2 separate regions of the Homo sapiens genome follow, and region 2 is linked to region 1. Evidence: promoter capture Hi-C in 16 types of primary human blood cells and fetal thymus (Javierre and others, 2016). All regions are on one chromosome and are shown on one strand. The core of a region is centred on a gene start or on the middle of the fragment in contact, and the rest is flanking DNA. Distances in the headings are between cores, read along the strand shown.

Region 1 (7,479 bases), core at 3,482-5,981:
CACAATTTTGGCTCACTGCAATCTCCACCTCCCAGGTTCAAGCGATTCTCCTGCTTCAGCCTCCCGAGTAGCTGGGATTACAGGTGTCCATTACCACACCCAGCTGATTTTTGTATTTTTAGTACAGATGGGGTTTCACCATGTTGCCCAGGCTAGTCTCGAACTCCTGACCCCAAGGGATCTGCCTGCCTCAGCTTCCCAAAGAGCCAGGATTACAGGTGTTAGCCACCATGCCCGGCCAGATTTTGCATTTCTAACAATCTCTAAGTGATGCCTATGCTGCCGGAACTGTCCTAAATGCTAGACAAGCCTCAGGCAAGGCTCTGAGTGATGATGACATGGTGGCCCCCTAGGGAGAGTTGCCCTCTGCCCTTGACTGGGGCCTGCTAAACACTGACCATGCCGGATTCTAAACCTGCTGCACTCATCACCTTTTCTCCATCCTTCTGCCCTCTGCCACCTCTTCCTTCCCAGATGAGTTAAAACCACCCCACGCCTCTGCTCCAGACATTGGCTGGGCTCCACCGAGTCTCATGACTCTTCACTCACCCGGGTCTAAGGTACTGCTTAGGTGAGGTGCTTTTCCAGATGGCTGATCTTGCCCCCACAAGCATGAACTTTATAAATTAGTTTAACTCTCAAGTTCCTGAGATGCCTCACTATCTCTCCCGGGTATCTCCCTGGAAAAATTTTTCACTGTTGGCAAAGCACTCCTTAGCCTGACCACCCACAGACATTATGATAATGCATAGACTCACTAGACAATTAGTGACCTGGAAAAAAGCCATGACTTTTTAAATTTTATTTTATTTTTCTGAGACAGAGTTTCGCTCTTGTCGCCCAGGCTGGAGTGCAATGGCGCGATCTCGGCCCACTGCAACCTCCGCCTCCTAGGTTCAAGTGATTCTCCTGCCTCAGCCTGCAGAGTAGCTGGGATTACAGGCACCCACCACCATGCCTGGCTAATTTCTGTATTTTTAGTAGAGACGGGGTTTCACCATGTTGGCCAGGCTGGCCTCGAACTCCTGACCTCAAGTGATCTGCCTGCCTCGGCCTCCCAAAGTGCTGGGATTACAGGCCATGCCTGGCTATGACTTATTTTATTTTTATTTCAATGCTTACAATGTCATGACTGACTTCTTACCTGCCCTACCTGCTTATCTTTTTAAGTTCTGGATACCCTGGTTGCAGAAAACTCAGACTTAACTTACTTTCTAAGTGAACTTTCTTACTACAAAAGTAATACATATTTGAGAACTTGGAAAATGTAAGCAAGAAGAAAGCGAAAACATGAGTGGCCATCACCCAGAGATAAAATTGTGACATTTTGCCTCATGGTCTTGCAGTCTTTATACATAAATTATGCTTTACAAAATCTGGCTTATGCTACATTCTCTCTTTCTTTCCTTTTCTTTTCTTTTCCTTCCCCTCCCTCCCTCCCTCCCTTCCTTCCTTCCTCCTTCCCTCCCTTCCTTTCTTCCTCCCTCCCTCCCTTCCTTCCTTCTTCTTTCCTTCCTTCCTTCTCCCTCTCTTTTCTTCTTTTCTTTCTTTTTTTCTTTTCTATCTTTCACAGGGTCTTTGCTCTGTTGCCCAGGCTAGAGTGCAGTGGTGCAATCTGGGCTCACTGCAGCCTTGACTTTCTGGGCTCAAGTGATCCTCCCACTTCAGCCTTCTGAGTATCTGAGACAACAGGCATGTGCCACCACGCCCAGCTAATTTTTTATTTTTTTATTTTTTGTAGCAATGGGGTCGCTAGTCTTGAACTCCTGGGCTCAAGCAATCCTCCAACCTCGGCCTCCCAAAGTGCTGGGATTATAGGCATGTGCCCAGCCAACATGCACCGTTTTTTTGTTTTGTTTTGTTTTGGTTTTGGTTTGTTTGTTTGTGTTTTTTTTGAGATGGATTCTCTCTCTGTTGCCTGGGCTGGAATGCAGTGGTGCAATCTCGGCTCACTGCAACCTCCGCCTCCCAGGTTCAAGCGATTCTCCTGCCTCCTTAGCCTCCCAAGTAGCTGGGATTACAGGCACCTGCCACCACGCCCAGCTAAGTTTTTTTTTTTTTTGTATTTTTTAGTAGAGACGGGGTTTCAACATATTGGCCAGGCTGGTCTCAAACTCCTGACCTTGTGATCCGCCTGCCTCGGCCTCCCAAAGTGCTGGGATTACAGGCGTAAGCCACCGTATCCGGCCAACATGCACCATTTTTAAGCTGCTTTCCCCCTCCATTTACAGTATACTGTGACCATTTTTAAAAGTCAATGAAAATCTTTCTATATCATTTTAAATGATTATGTAGTTTTTCACCTAATTGATGGGGTTTTGGAGTGTTTTCAATCATTTGTGATTAAAATAAAACTGCAATGAATATCCTCACTCAACCAAAATATATCTTTTTGATGCTTCTGGGGAATTACATGATTAGGTCAAAGTAGATGAACTTCTTTATGTTTTCTTATGTTGCCAAGCCAGAAAGCGTGACTTCCAAACTCTCAAATACAAACCAGGTTCTTTGGACTAAATCAGTGTCTCGAATCCCCAGTAACCTCAGTTAACCAGTAGTGACACCGAAAAGCAGGGAATTCCAGAGCTGAGAGGAACTTTGAGGCCATCGGTGATCATATACCTCGTCTCCAGCTCAGAAAGAGGAGAATTACTTAGACATTTTCTTTAGAGATCTAAAACTTCCCAAAGTCCACAGTTTTATTTTCACACAATTCTAGGCTAACTTAAAATCAGCATTTTTGCATTATTCTTTCATTCAATATTTATATATTTATAATGAGGGGGTTAGATCAATAGGGGATTGGTGAAGTGATTTATGGTACAGCCATTCAATGAAATCTGATACAACCATTAAAAAACCGAAGAAGGTCTTCTTTTTTTTTTTTTGCTCTGTCGCCCAGGCTGGAGTGCAGTGGTACAATCTCAGCTCACTGCAACCTCTGCCTCCCAGGTTCAAGCGATTCTCCTGCCTCAGCCTCCTGAGTAGCTGGGACTACAGGTGTGCACCATGACGCCGGCTAATTTTTGTATTTTTAGTAGAGACGGGGTTTCACCATGTTGGCCAGGCTGGTCTTGAACTCCTGACCTCAAGTGATCCACCCGCCTTGGCCTCCCAAAGTGCTGGGATTACAGGTGTGAGTCACAGCGCTGGGCCAAAAACCGAAGAAGGTCTTTATGTACTAATACAGAATGATATCTCAAATACATCATCAAATGAAAAAAGAAAAATGCAGAACAGTGTACATAATATGCACATTTGTGTAAAAAGGAGGTAAAGGAATACATAGATGTTTTGCCATGGACATGCTGTTTGTGTATGTATAAAACATCTTTGGAAAGATACACAACAAACTGATAGTATAATACTTTGATTTCCAGGGAAACTAGGTGGCTGCGAAGAGACAGTTTTCACTGTGAAATCAAACCATTCACATGCTCAACCATGTAAATATATTACCTATTTAAAAATCAAATGTGGGCACGGTGGCTCAAGTGTAATCTTAGCACTTTTGGCAAGTGGATTGCTGGAGCCCAGGAGTTTGAGACCAGCCTAGGCAACCTGGAGAAACCCCATCTCTACAAGAAATACAAAAATTAGCCAGCCACGGTGGCATGCACCTGTAGTCCTAGGTACTCAGGAGGCGGAGGTGGGAAGACTGCTTGACCCCAGGAGGTTGAGGCTGCAGTGAGCTGTGATCGTGCCACCGCACCCCAGCCTGGATGATAGAGTGAGACTCTGTCTCAAAATAAATCAATACATAAAAATTAATGTAAAAAAACACAAAATGCGGGGACTAGGGCATTTGATTACATCACCAAGCAGATACATTTATTTACTTGTTTATTTCTCAAGTATGGCTGAAAATGTCAGTAAAGAAATAAGGGGCCAGGCGCGGTGGCTCATGCCTGTAATCTCAGCACTTTGGGAGGTCGAGGCAGGTGGATCACCTGAGGTCAGGAGTTTGAGACCAGCCTGGCCAACAAGGCGAAATCCTGTCTCTACTAAGAATGTAAAAATTAGCCGGGCATGGTAGCGCGCACCTGTAGTCCCAGTTACTCGGGAGGCCGTGGCAGGAGAATTGCTGGAACCAGGGAGGTGGGGGTTACAGTGAGCCAGTATCGCCCCACTGCACTCTAGCCTGGGCGACAGAGCAAAACTACGTCTTAAAAAAAAAAAAAAAAAAGAAAGAAAAAAAAAAAGAAAGAAAGAGAGAGAGAAAGAAAAGAGGACCATAGGTACAAAAAGAATTTGAGCGGGAACAAAAGATGGGCCACGTGAACAGACCGGTTATAACAATAATAGTTCTGGTTAACATTTAGCGAGTTACTGTCTGCCAGGCCCTGTGTTATTACGCGATCTCGACACGTATTACCTCATTTAATCTACAGATCAAGTAGGTAGGTTATTATGGCCATTTTCAGGTGAGGAAACTGAGGCTGGCAGAAGTTAATTAATTTGCTCAAGTCTCCATCGGTAGTTAAACGGAGTTTGGATTCTCAGTGAGGGCTGAACTCTGACCTAGAAGTGTGCCTTGCTTGAGAACCCTGGCTCTTCAGGCAGACGCTCAACCGTCTCCCGACTATTTTTCTGCTGTATTAGTGGCCGCTTTTGTCAGTATTTTGCAAGAGCTATCTGTATTTTGGTTACAGGGACTCAGCATAGGGAAGGATCCATCTCGGCAGAAGCCAGGAGTCGAGGCAGGTCAGCGCACAGAGGACAGTGGAATCCGAGGGGATGGCAGGAGATCAATCGGACCCAGAACAGAGGCCTGCAAGGATGAGCGCACTTGATCCCCTCAGAGAAAAAGCCAGAGTGACTCACAGGAGAAAGACAAAGCAACCAAAGCTTCCAGGGTGTACAGGAGGTCCAAAGTCACCAGAAGGAAGAAGAAAACCTGAAACAGCGAGAGCTGGCCAAACGCTGCTAAGACCTATGCAAATAAGACCCACCCACGCTACCTGGAAATCGGGCCTGGGAAGTCAGAAAACAAAGCACATGCGTGCAGGGCTGCACGAACGGAGGCGGAGGAGGCGGCTCCGAGGGAGCAGGTAAGGAGACAGAGAGGGTCGCGGAGGGACGGGTCACAGGGCTCCAGAGTCCAGAGAGGCAGCAGCCGTGCAGCGCGCGACAGGTGAACTCTGGCCTGGGAGGGCAGGCTACTGGGTTCATCTTTCAAACTCAGCCACTCTTTAGCTGGGAAGACTTCGGCAAGTTGCCTCACCCTTCTGAGCCTTGGCTTCCCCATCTAGAAAATGGGTCTAAAAATAATCATGCTAACTCTGTATTGAGCGCCTTCCGTATTCTACTGGGCACCGTATAGACTATTCCTTCCCCAGAGCAACCTTGTAGGAGTGGGATGATTAGCCTTTTTTACAGAGGAAAATGAAGTTCAGAGAGGTTAAGCCATTTGTCCAAGACAAATTGTTCCAAATCTGGTTCCAAAGCCGGCACCTTTCTACTCCCCATTCAGCCTCTCTCACAGGGTGGTTTTAGAGTATCAAATGGCTTTCTGCAAACAACAACAAAAAATCCCAAAAGGCTAGTAACCTATCTAGATGGATCACCACACTTAGATCTTAGCAAGGGCCAGGGCCCTTTGTAAACTGTGAAGTGCTATGGAAATGCCAGTTCTTGGTTGAAAACAATGGAGTGATGCTGGGGACAATTGATATTTGGCGATGACTTGTTCATAGACCAAGGAGATGACTTTGGGGCGGTGTTTAGGATTTACTGTAGCTGAGATGTCCTGGCTTGGGGTGGAGGTGATACATGGCCAGAATCTCTCCCCAGCTGATCCTGAAACAGCAGTGGATCCCTGGGAGAGCAGCACAGATAAAGATCCAGGCAATAATGATGCTTCCTCCTCTTGGACAGCCTTTTACAGTTCTGGCCATGGAACTTCAGAGAAGGTAGGTCTGATTTGGGGGGAAACAGGAGATCTTGACGTGTAGTAATACAAGCTTACTGGATGGAGTAAAGTTAGAATTTTCAGGTAAGAGAATTAAAAAAAAAAAAAAAACTTATAATCTTGCCCCCAGAGATAACCACTGCTAATATCTGGTTGTTTATCTCTCCAGACATTTTTTCCATTGCACACACACTTTTGGAAATTGGATTATATGGTAATATGGTTTTGTTGCTGGTTCTTTTTCGCTTAATGACATTATATCCTAGGTATATATCCATATTAATAGTTTTACCACATCATATTAAAGGCTGCATAATATCTCTTCCTATGGATGGAGCAGAATCTACTTAATCAATGTCCTATTACTGGATGATGACGTAGTTCTCCATACGTCACCGTTAAACCAGCGCCTGGATGGGCATCTCTTTACTCACATCTTTGCAGAAGTCCTTGATGGTTTCCGTGGAATCGATTCCCAGTGGGGGAAATGATGAGTCAAGGTTACATACAGTTTACGGCCTCTGGTAAGTATTAAAGATCTGCTTCTAACACACTCTGGGATTCAGGGGCTTCTCAAAGCTTGATGCAGAGGACTTTGTCACGGCTTTGAAATCAACCTTGACCCTTCCTTTCTCTCAAATCCATTTGCATTAATAATTTCAACTGCCTCATATATCCATAACAATGTTTTGATCAACAGTGAATTACATATGTGATGGTGGCCACCTAAGATTATAATACCATATATTTACCTTGCCTTTTCTAAGTTTATGTTGAAAGACACACGCAATTATCATTGTGTTACAATTGCCTACAGTGTTCAGAACATAATAAGCTGTATGGGTTTGTAGCCTAGGAGCAACAGGCTAGACCGTATAGCCTAGGCATGTAGCAGGCTCTACCATCTAGGTTTGTGTAAATACTCTCTGTGCTGTTCATACAACGATGTGTTTCTGAGAACATAGTCCCATTTTTAGGTCATGCATTGCTTTGTGGTCTTTACTGGGTGCTGGGCTCTAACTAAAAGCTTTACTAGTTTTGGCTTCCTTTGCACAAGGAGAAATAGAGGCACAGAGAGGTCAAGCAATTCAACTGGAATCACAGCCCTAAATAGCCATGGATCTGGCATCATGAACCTTGACAGAAACTACAACTGGATCCCTAGAACTCCACTGCTTCTTGGGAAGTGGCTTTGATTCTGTCCCCAAAGATATCACTTATCCCATCCCCTTTTATCTCCTCTGCCACTGCCTAACCTGCACCACCATCACACGCCTGAGCCACACTGCTGCAGCCCGAACGGGTGTTCCCTTCCCGATCTTATCCCTCTCAGCCTGTCCTCTGCTCTGCAGCTAGAATGGTGTTTTAAAAATGGAAATAGGATCAGGTACCTTACCCTACCGCTCACCCCTGGAATAAAATCCAGATGAGCTCCTGAGTTCACAGGTCCCGAGTACTATACCCTCCCACCTTGCCTACTCCGGTCACCACACCTTGATCACCCTGGGCTCCTTTCACTTTCTCAAATTGGAAGAGCTTTTCTCACCTCGGGGCCACACATGCTGTTC
Region 2 (6,765 bases), core at 1,454-3,953, 120 kb before region 1:
ACTCTCACCTGTTTCGAAGTGGTTCCTTTTTCCATCTGCTGCTGCTGCTTCATGTCACTGTTCTGACCTGGCAGAGTTCTGTAACCTAGTAACCAAAGAGTCCATTCAATCTTCCTCTTATTACCATATCATACCCTATTTGGGGGCTTCTAGGTGACCCCTAGTCTACAAGTGACTCTGCATCCAGGAAAAGACAAGACCTTGATGGCAGGTAAAAGGTAGTTAGACCTTCTGAGTTCTACTTGAGATTCTGCTCACCTGGGACTGTAACTTCATCTATTACAGAATTAGAGATTACGCTCAAGTGTGTGTTAAAAGACCCAGGATTCCTCCAAGAAACCCTAATCTACTTTTTCACAGCATATGAATACTCCTCTTACCAGAATGTGACTCATCTTCTTGCGCCATCCCTCATGTACCCATAAACAAAGCAAAAACAAAAACCTCTAGTTTTATGTTTCTTTTGCATCAGCTGCTTCCCCAACTAGTCCCTAGGTAGATTCATTCATTCTTTTCTCAATCTCCCTTTCCCTAAACAAACATCTTCCAAGCTGCCACCAGAGGTATTATGCTAAATTATAGCATTTCCATGGACTCCCTACCAGCACTGGTTCTCACCTTAGCTGTACACTGGGAGAAATGAAGAGCTTTAAAAAACAAACAAACAAAAAACACTGAGGCCTAGTTCCTACCATCAGAAATTCTGACTTAATAGCTGGGACACAGTCTGAGTATTAGAGTTTTAAAAGCTTCTTGGCTGGGCGCAGTGGCTCACGCCTGTAATCCCAACATTTTGGGAGGCCGAGGCGGGCAGATCACCTGAGGTTGGGAGTTCGAGACCAGCCTGACCAACATGGAGAAACCCCGTTTCTACTAAAAATACAAAATCTTAGCCAGGCGTGGTGGTGCATGCCTATAATCCCAGCTACCGGGGAGGCTAAGGCAGGAGAATTGCTTGAACCTGGACCCAGAAGGCAGAGGTTGTGGTGAGCCGAGATCACACCATGGCACTCCAGCCTGGGCAACAAGAGCGAAACTCCGTCTCAAATAAATAAATAAATAAAAGCTTCACAATTGGTCTTAGTGTACAGTCAAGGCGGAGCACCACTGGCCTGGATGATAAAGGTCAAAAGACTTAGCAGTCCATACAAGCCCCTGCCTACCTCTTTGGTGTGATAGACCACTCTCCCTTAAATACCCAACCCCACAACCACACTCAACTGCTCAGTGTTTCCTGAGCAGCTGTGATCCTCCTAGATGCCTTTGCACAGGCTATTCCCTCTCAAGAGTTCTTTCCCATATCAGGAAAACTCCCACACATACTCAAGATTCAATGCAAAAATCATCTCTTCCATAAAGCCTTTCTCAACTCAGTGAGGACAGGCCACTGCTCTATGAACATGACTCACAGAGGCACCCCAGTCACCCAAGCAAAATTGCTCCTATTGGAGGCATTGGGAAGGGGTACAAAAGGCACCAGAACGGAATTCAGGGGAGTGGTAGTGGTCACCCTAGATGGAGTGTTAACCTTGGATACATCACCTCCTGCCCGGGGCCAAGCCCTGATTCTGTCCACCTCCCATAAGAAGGGCAGGAACCTTCCAACCTTCAGGTTAGAGCAGATCATTGGCATCAGACAACTAAGTGAGATGGGAAGGAAAGCAAGAGGGCAACATCCTTCTCAGGAAACCTCATCTCAGCCCTCCCAGTGCCCCAGGATTGGAGAGCTCTTTCTGATGATTAAACAGTTGTTTTCATATTAAAGTCAGCAATGTCCAGTCTGAGACGGGCACAACGATCCTCCAAAGTTTGGGGGGATTCTTTCTCCCTCCTCCCATTCTCCACTCAAGTTGAAAAATTTTGGAGGGATAGGGGTAAGTATATGCCTGAGCTCAGACATAATAACGACTCCAAAAAGGGGAGATGTCCATTCTTGTGTCCAGCATGAGCACTGGAGCAAAAGAACTGCCTGACAAGAGTTGGCTCCCTGACTCCTGGATGGGGCTAGACAATGTGTTGATTTTAACGTGAGGCTCCAGAGACTCTCTACCTTGTGGCAGGAAGGTTAGGGGGCCCCAGAGCTCTGCTTCCTTAGAACTCTTTTGGGGTTCTAGTGAGGGGCCCCAGCTCTCCCTGCCTCATTGGAAAATGGGCCCTCAGGGTTTTCTCTTCAGTAACCTGGGCTTGTTCCTCTCCTGATCCTCAAAGTGCTCTGCCTTTTCTAAGGTAGAACCTGAGGAAAAGATGACTGGGATTCATGTTCATGGTCATCTTTCAAGCCCTCATGTGAAGCAGACATCTGGCTCAGCTTGTTTGTTTAGCAAATTTATGAGGGAAGGATGGTGCATGAGAGACCAGACAGACTGAAGCATTCCAAGAAACTCTGAGTGCCTGACAAAGGCAGGTCTCAAAATGACAAGAGCATGTTTAGCTTTTCCTGCCCTCAGATACCTACCCCTCAGGGATCCTATCACCCCCAACCAAGCATATATTCCCCTTACCATAGAGACGGTCATGAACGGTGGTAACTGGATGTTTATGTGAAGTGCTCTGGATCCCTGGATCACTCTTGGCTTTCTTTTTAGCCTCCTGAAACCCACATCAGGAGGAACAAATTAGGATTTTTGGAAGTAAAGAAAACTTTTTTCAAAAGGAATATCAAAAAGAAGGAATTTAACATCTACAACCAGACAAGAACTTTTTATCTATAACCAGATAGAAAACAAGGAGACCCCCACCTTTCATACATCCCTTCCCATTCCAGGCTGTAGACCTCTCCCAGTCCCAGCAAGCCCCTCACTGCCACTCTACCTGTTTCTTAATAGGTGTTTTCACCTTCTTCTGTTGCTGCTGCTGCTGCTGCTGCCGCTGCTGCTGTTTCCTGTAACCTGGTGACCAGAGAGCCAGCTTGATCCTCTTCTAACAGCCCCCTCTCTCCCACTGGAATGCCTGCTGTGCCTTCCTTCACAATGGTGACTCCCTGGTAAGGACCAAGCCAGAGGGGCTGCTTCCTGAAACTATTGTTTCCTGAGTTCTACATGTGACCCTGTATGACTGTGGCCACAAATATAACTGAATTGGACCACGTTAAAGTATGAGAAATGTGGGCTAACAGAAAATGGTGCTTAGAGATCCAGCAGCAACAGCAAATCTACCTTCTGTCTTCAGGTTATGTAATTTCTTCAAACGTTCAGGATATCGCAGTGCTGGTCTCTGGAGAAAGAAAAAAGAAAAAGAAAAGCTCTACTGCAGGTCTTTCCCTTTCTCCAAATGTATCCCCCAAATGCGTTTATTCATCCAGTCAACAAGCACATTTTAAGAACCCAGTGTTTTGCAGCATTGTACCAGGGGCTACGGAGGAAGGGAAAAGGTGTGGGGAACAAAGTGCAGAAGAAATAGAGAACATGGCCAGGCATGGTGGCTCATGCCTGTAATCCCAGCACTTTGGGAGGCTGAGGTGGGCAGATCACCTGAGCTCAGGAGTTCGAAACCAGCCTAGGCAACATAGTGAGACCCTGTCTCTACAAAAAATTAAAAATTAGCCAGCCATGGTGGCGCACACCTGTAGTCCCAGCTACTCTGGAGGCTGAGGTAGGAGGATGACTTCATCCCAGCAGGTCAAGGCTGCAGTGAGCCATGATCAACCACTGCACTACACCCTGGGTGACAGAGTGAGACCCAGTCTCTCAAAAAAGAAAAAAAAAAAAAAAAGAAAGAAATAGAGAACATTGCTCTCTCAACACTTCCCCATCGACTGGCTTTTACATACATAGAGCCCAGCCTTCTCTGGGGCATGGGTTCAGAGTGGAAAGGCAGAAGGGAGATAAGGAATAGAATGTCAACTCTTCCAGATTTGAGGAGAGATGGGTTTGAATTTTCACATAGGCTTCTTCCCTGCTGTTTCCTAGCTCTTACTTCCAGGGTGAGGCGGTGTATAGATAGAAACATCTTAGAAGAAATCACACTGTCAGGTCGGTTCTTTTCCAAGGGAAGATTCTTTTTCATCATGGCCAATTTTATCTTCATCTCTGGACAGAGCATGGTTTGCTTTCCACCTGGCAAAAGTCTGAAGGGGACAGAGGACAGCCAGACAGTCAGCAACAGCTCTTCCCGGAAAGCATGGCTGAGGAGAAAGAGATGTAAAGGGCTCCAAGAAATTTCCACTTTGGGTCTGAAAAGGCCTGTACCAACAAGTGTTCATTTGGTAACACTTTTCTGATGCAACTACGATCATCATAGCTGCATATACTCAGTGCTGATTCTATGTCAGGCTCATGTGCTTTTACAACACCTGAGAACAGATATTACTCCCACTTTGCAAATGAGGAAAATGAAGCTTTAAGAGGCTAAATACATTACCAAAATTCATATAGCCAGTTAAGTTTCAATGTAAAATTCAAAGGTCATCTCACTGCAGACCACATATTCTGCCTACCACTTATTCATAATTCACCTATAAAAAGAAGACAGTGATAGTGCCTACCTCCTAGTGCAAATTTAAATGAAAGTACATGTGATATGCCTAGCACAGGGCCAGGCAAATGGTAAGTGTGACAAATGGTGGTGGTTATGATGGTCATCCCTGCCTGTTGGTAAGTCCAAGAGTTCAGTAAACAAATCGGGGTGATAGTTTTCTCCCAGTCCTACTCAGAAAAAGCACACTGTTTAGACCCATCCCAGCTTCAGTAAAAAGCAGGTGCTCTGGCTCTCCCACAGACCTACATGATACTTACTCCTTCAGTAGATCCTGAGGTAACGCTTCGGATTGAGCCCAGAGAGGTAGGAAATCTGAACTGAATTGTTCAGACAATTGCACTGGGGTTGGGGGAGGCACGATCATCCCTGGTGTTCCTACTCGTGTTCCTGCGGACTGATTTCCAGAGAGACCCAGAAATGACTTGCTTTTCTGGAAGAGAAACAATGGAAAGAATTCTCCAAAGCATTCTTTTTAGCCTAGTCCTTTCCATCAACATTCTAGCCTCTCAACACTACCCTGGCATGTACTCCAGCCATGGTTGCCTCCTCTGAACGATGAGGGCCGCCACATGTTTCCCTCTCAAGCTCCCAACTCTGTTGTTGTATTCAGATCATACAGGGATTCGTTGTTTTGTTTCATTTTCCAGAAAGGTCATTCGTTTACTCACTCAACAAACTGAACAAAAATTTATTGTCTAATTATGTGTCAGGCACAGGGCTAGGGATGGGGATTCAGCAATGAACAAAATGAACCAAGACACTACTCTCATGGACATAGCAGTCTTACAGTGACTTATCCAAGGTCACATTTACTCATAAATGGTACAATTAGAGTTAGAAGCCCAGGTCTTATAACCCCTAGTCCATTGAAATTCTATATGATCACGTTGGGGATTCGTTTTTAATTGACCAAAAACTCCCCCCCTGAACACGCAACAGTTCCTCCTATTATCTCAAGGTGCTCTTCATCTCCCTATAGGAAGGAGACAGAAAAAAGGAGTCTCTGAATAGAGAATGGTTTGGTTAATTATTCCTAAAGAAGGGTTTTCTTTAGCAGATTTGGATCATTTCAGGAAAGAACGGGGGTAAGGTGGAGGAGACCTGAAAGGAAAACAAAATAAACTCTACATAGCAATATTATAAAGGTTTGCACAAAAACATCAAACTCACCACTGCCGAGTTCTTTCTTTTCTTCTTCCCATGCTGGCTGGAGAAAAACAAAACAAAACAAAACAAAACATGCTTCTCAGCTGGACTTGAAATAAGAGTAAGCACAACTTATTCCCAGATATCTTAAACAGAAGCTCCAAGGATATTTGTGAATGATGACCACAAAGATTCCTATCTTTGATCAGTACTCAAAGATAGCTGGTTGGGAACCCAGCAGTAACTGCTGCCCAAGTACCTTCTGCTAAAAAGACCCCCCATCCTCATATCTAAATTAGGTTTCCCATTATTCTCTCAGGCAATCCGGTTACCTACTTTCATAGCATGAATCCAAATTAGAAATGATATATGTAGGTGTGGTTATGTCTGTAATGGCTGACTCCCCCTGACAAGGCTCCAACAGGACAGGGACCAAATCTATTTGGTTCACTAAATCCTCACTGCTTGACACAGAGATGTTTGGTAAGAAGTATTTTTTGCTCTGACCTCTTCCTCCTTGCCTGGGACGTGGATATGATAGCTGGATCTCTAGTAGCCAACTTATACCTTAAAAGCAGCCATGAAACTCCTTAGAAGTTGGAATCCATGGGCTAAGGATGACGGCCCAAAAAGCTAGAAGGAGCCCTGGTTTCTAATTATCTCATGGAGCTCACATGACCTAGCCTGCCTACTTCTGAGCTTCTTTCACACGAAAGGAAATAAACCCTTAGGGTTGTTTTTCATTTGTTTATACCATATATACACACACACAAATGCATATATATAGAGAGAAGCACTCACAGGATTATTTTTTAAAAAGAAAAACAAAAGAAATAAAAAGAAATTCTTAAGTTTCATCATCTCTAAATGTCACTTAAGAACCTGAAAGCCTCAAGGATCAGGAAAGAAGAACCAAACACTTTCCCCATGGTTGTCAATATTAGCAAGCCTTTGGGCCTTCACCAAATGGTCTTTGTCACACTCTTTTGTACACAAGTCCTATATGCTATTGCTTTTGTACACTGTACTAGGCCCTGGGGTTGAGAACAGAGATTCACATGCTTCACTGAGAACTTTTTCACTTGTTGCAAGTGGCTAATAAGAAAAACTAAGAGAGAGCATTTATTTCTTAGTCAAGCCTTA

Evidence for each region. Contacts are between HindIII fragments. The CHiCAGO score rates a contact against its expected background, and 5 or more counts as called.
Region 2: a contact is called between a fragment that was not itself captured here and the fragment with the promoter of RNF183 in region 1, in 2 of 17 cell types (erythroblasts and megakaryocytes). The highest score is 6.5, in erythroblasts.

The regions. Positions count from the first base shown.
Region 1 is chr9:113,300,628-113,308,106 of GRCh38, reverse strand. RNF183 (ring finger protein 183) reads left to right here and starts at 4,731. Exons shown (of 5, transcript NM_001371237.1): 1 at 4,731-5,051; 2 at 5,794-5,912; 3 at 6,356-6,435. RefSeq lists a cis regulatory region at 440 and enhancers at 356-525, 2,291-2,460. The HindIII fragment of the contact is 12,929 bases long and covers 1-4,850 here.
Region 2 is chr9:113,421,467-113,428,231 of GRCh38, reverse strand. It overlaps C9orf43 (chromosome 9 open reading frame 43), which reads right to left. Exons shown (of 14, transcript NM_001278629.2): 6 at 5,647-5,683; 7 at 4,734-4,906; 8 at 3,916-4,066; 9 at 3,156-3,213; 10 at 2,812-2,888; 11 at 2,502-2,589; 12 at 9-85. Among named protein-coding and RNA genes, the nearest start is that of C9orf43, 14 kb to the right of the region's middle. The HindIII fragment of the contact is 3,270 bases long and covers 1,069-4,338 here.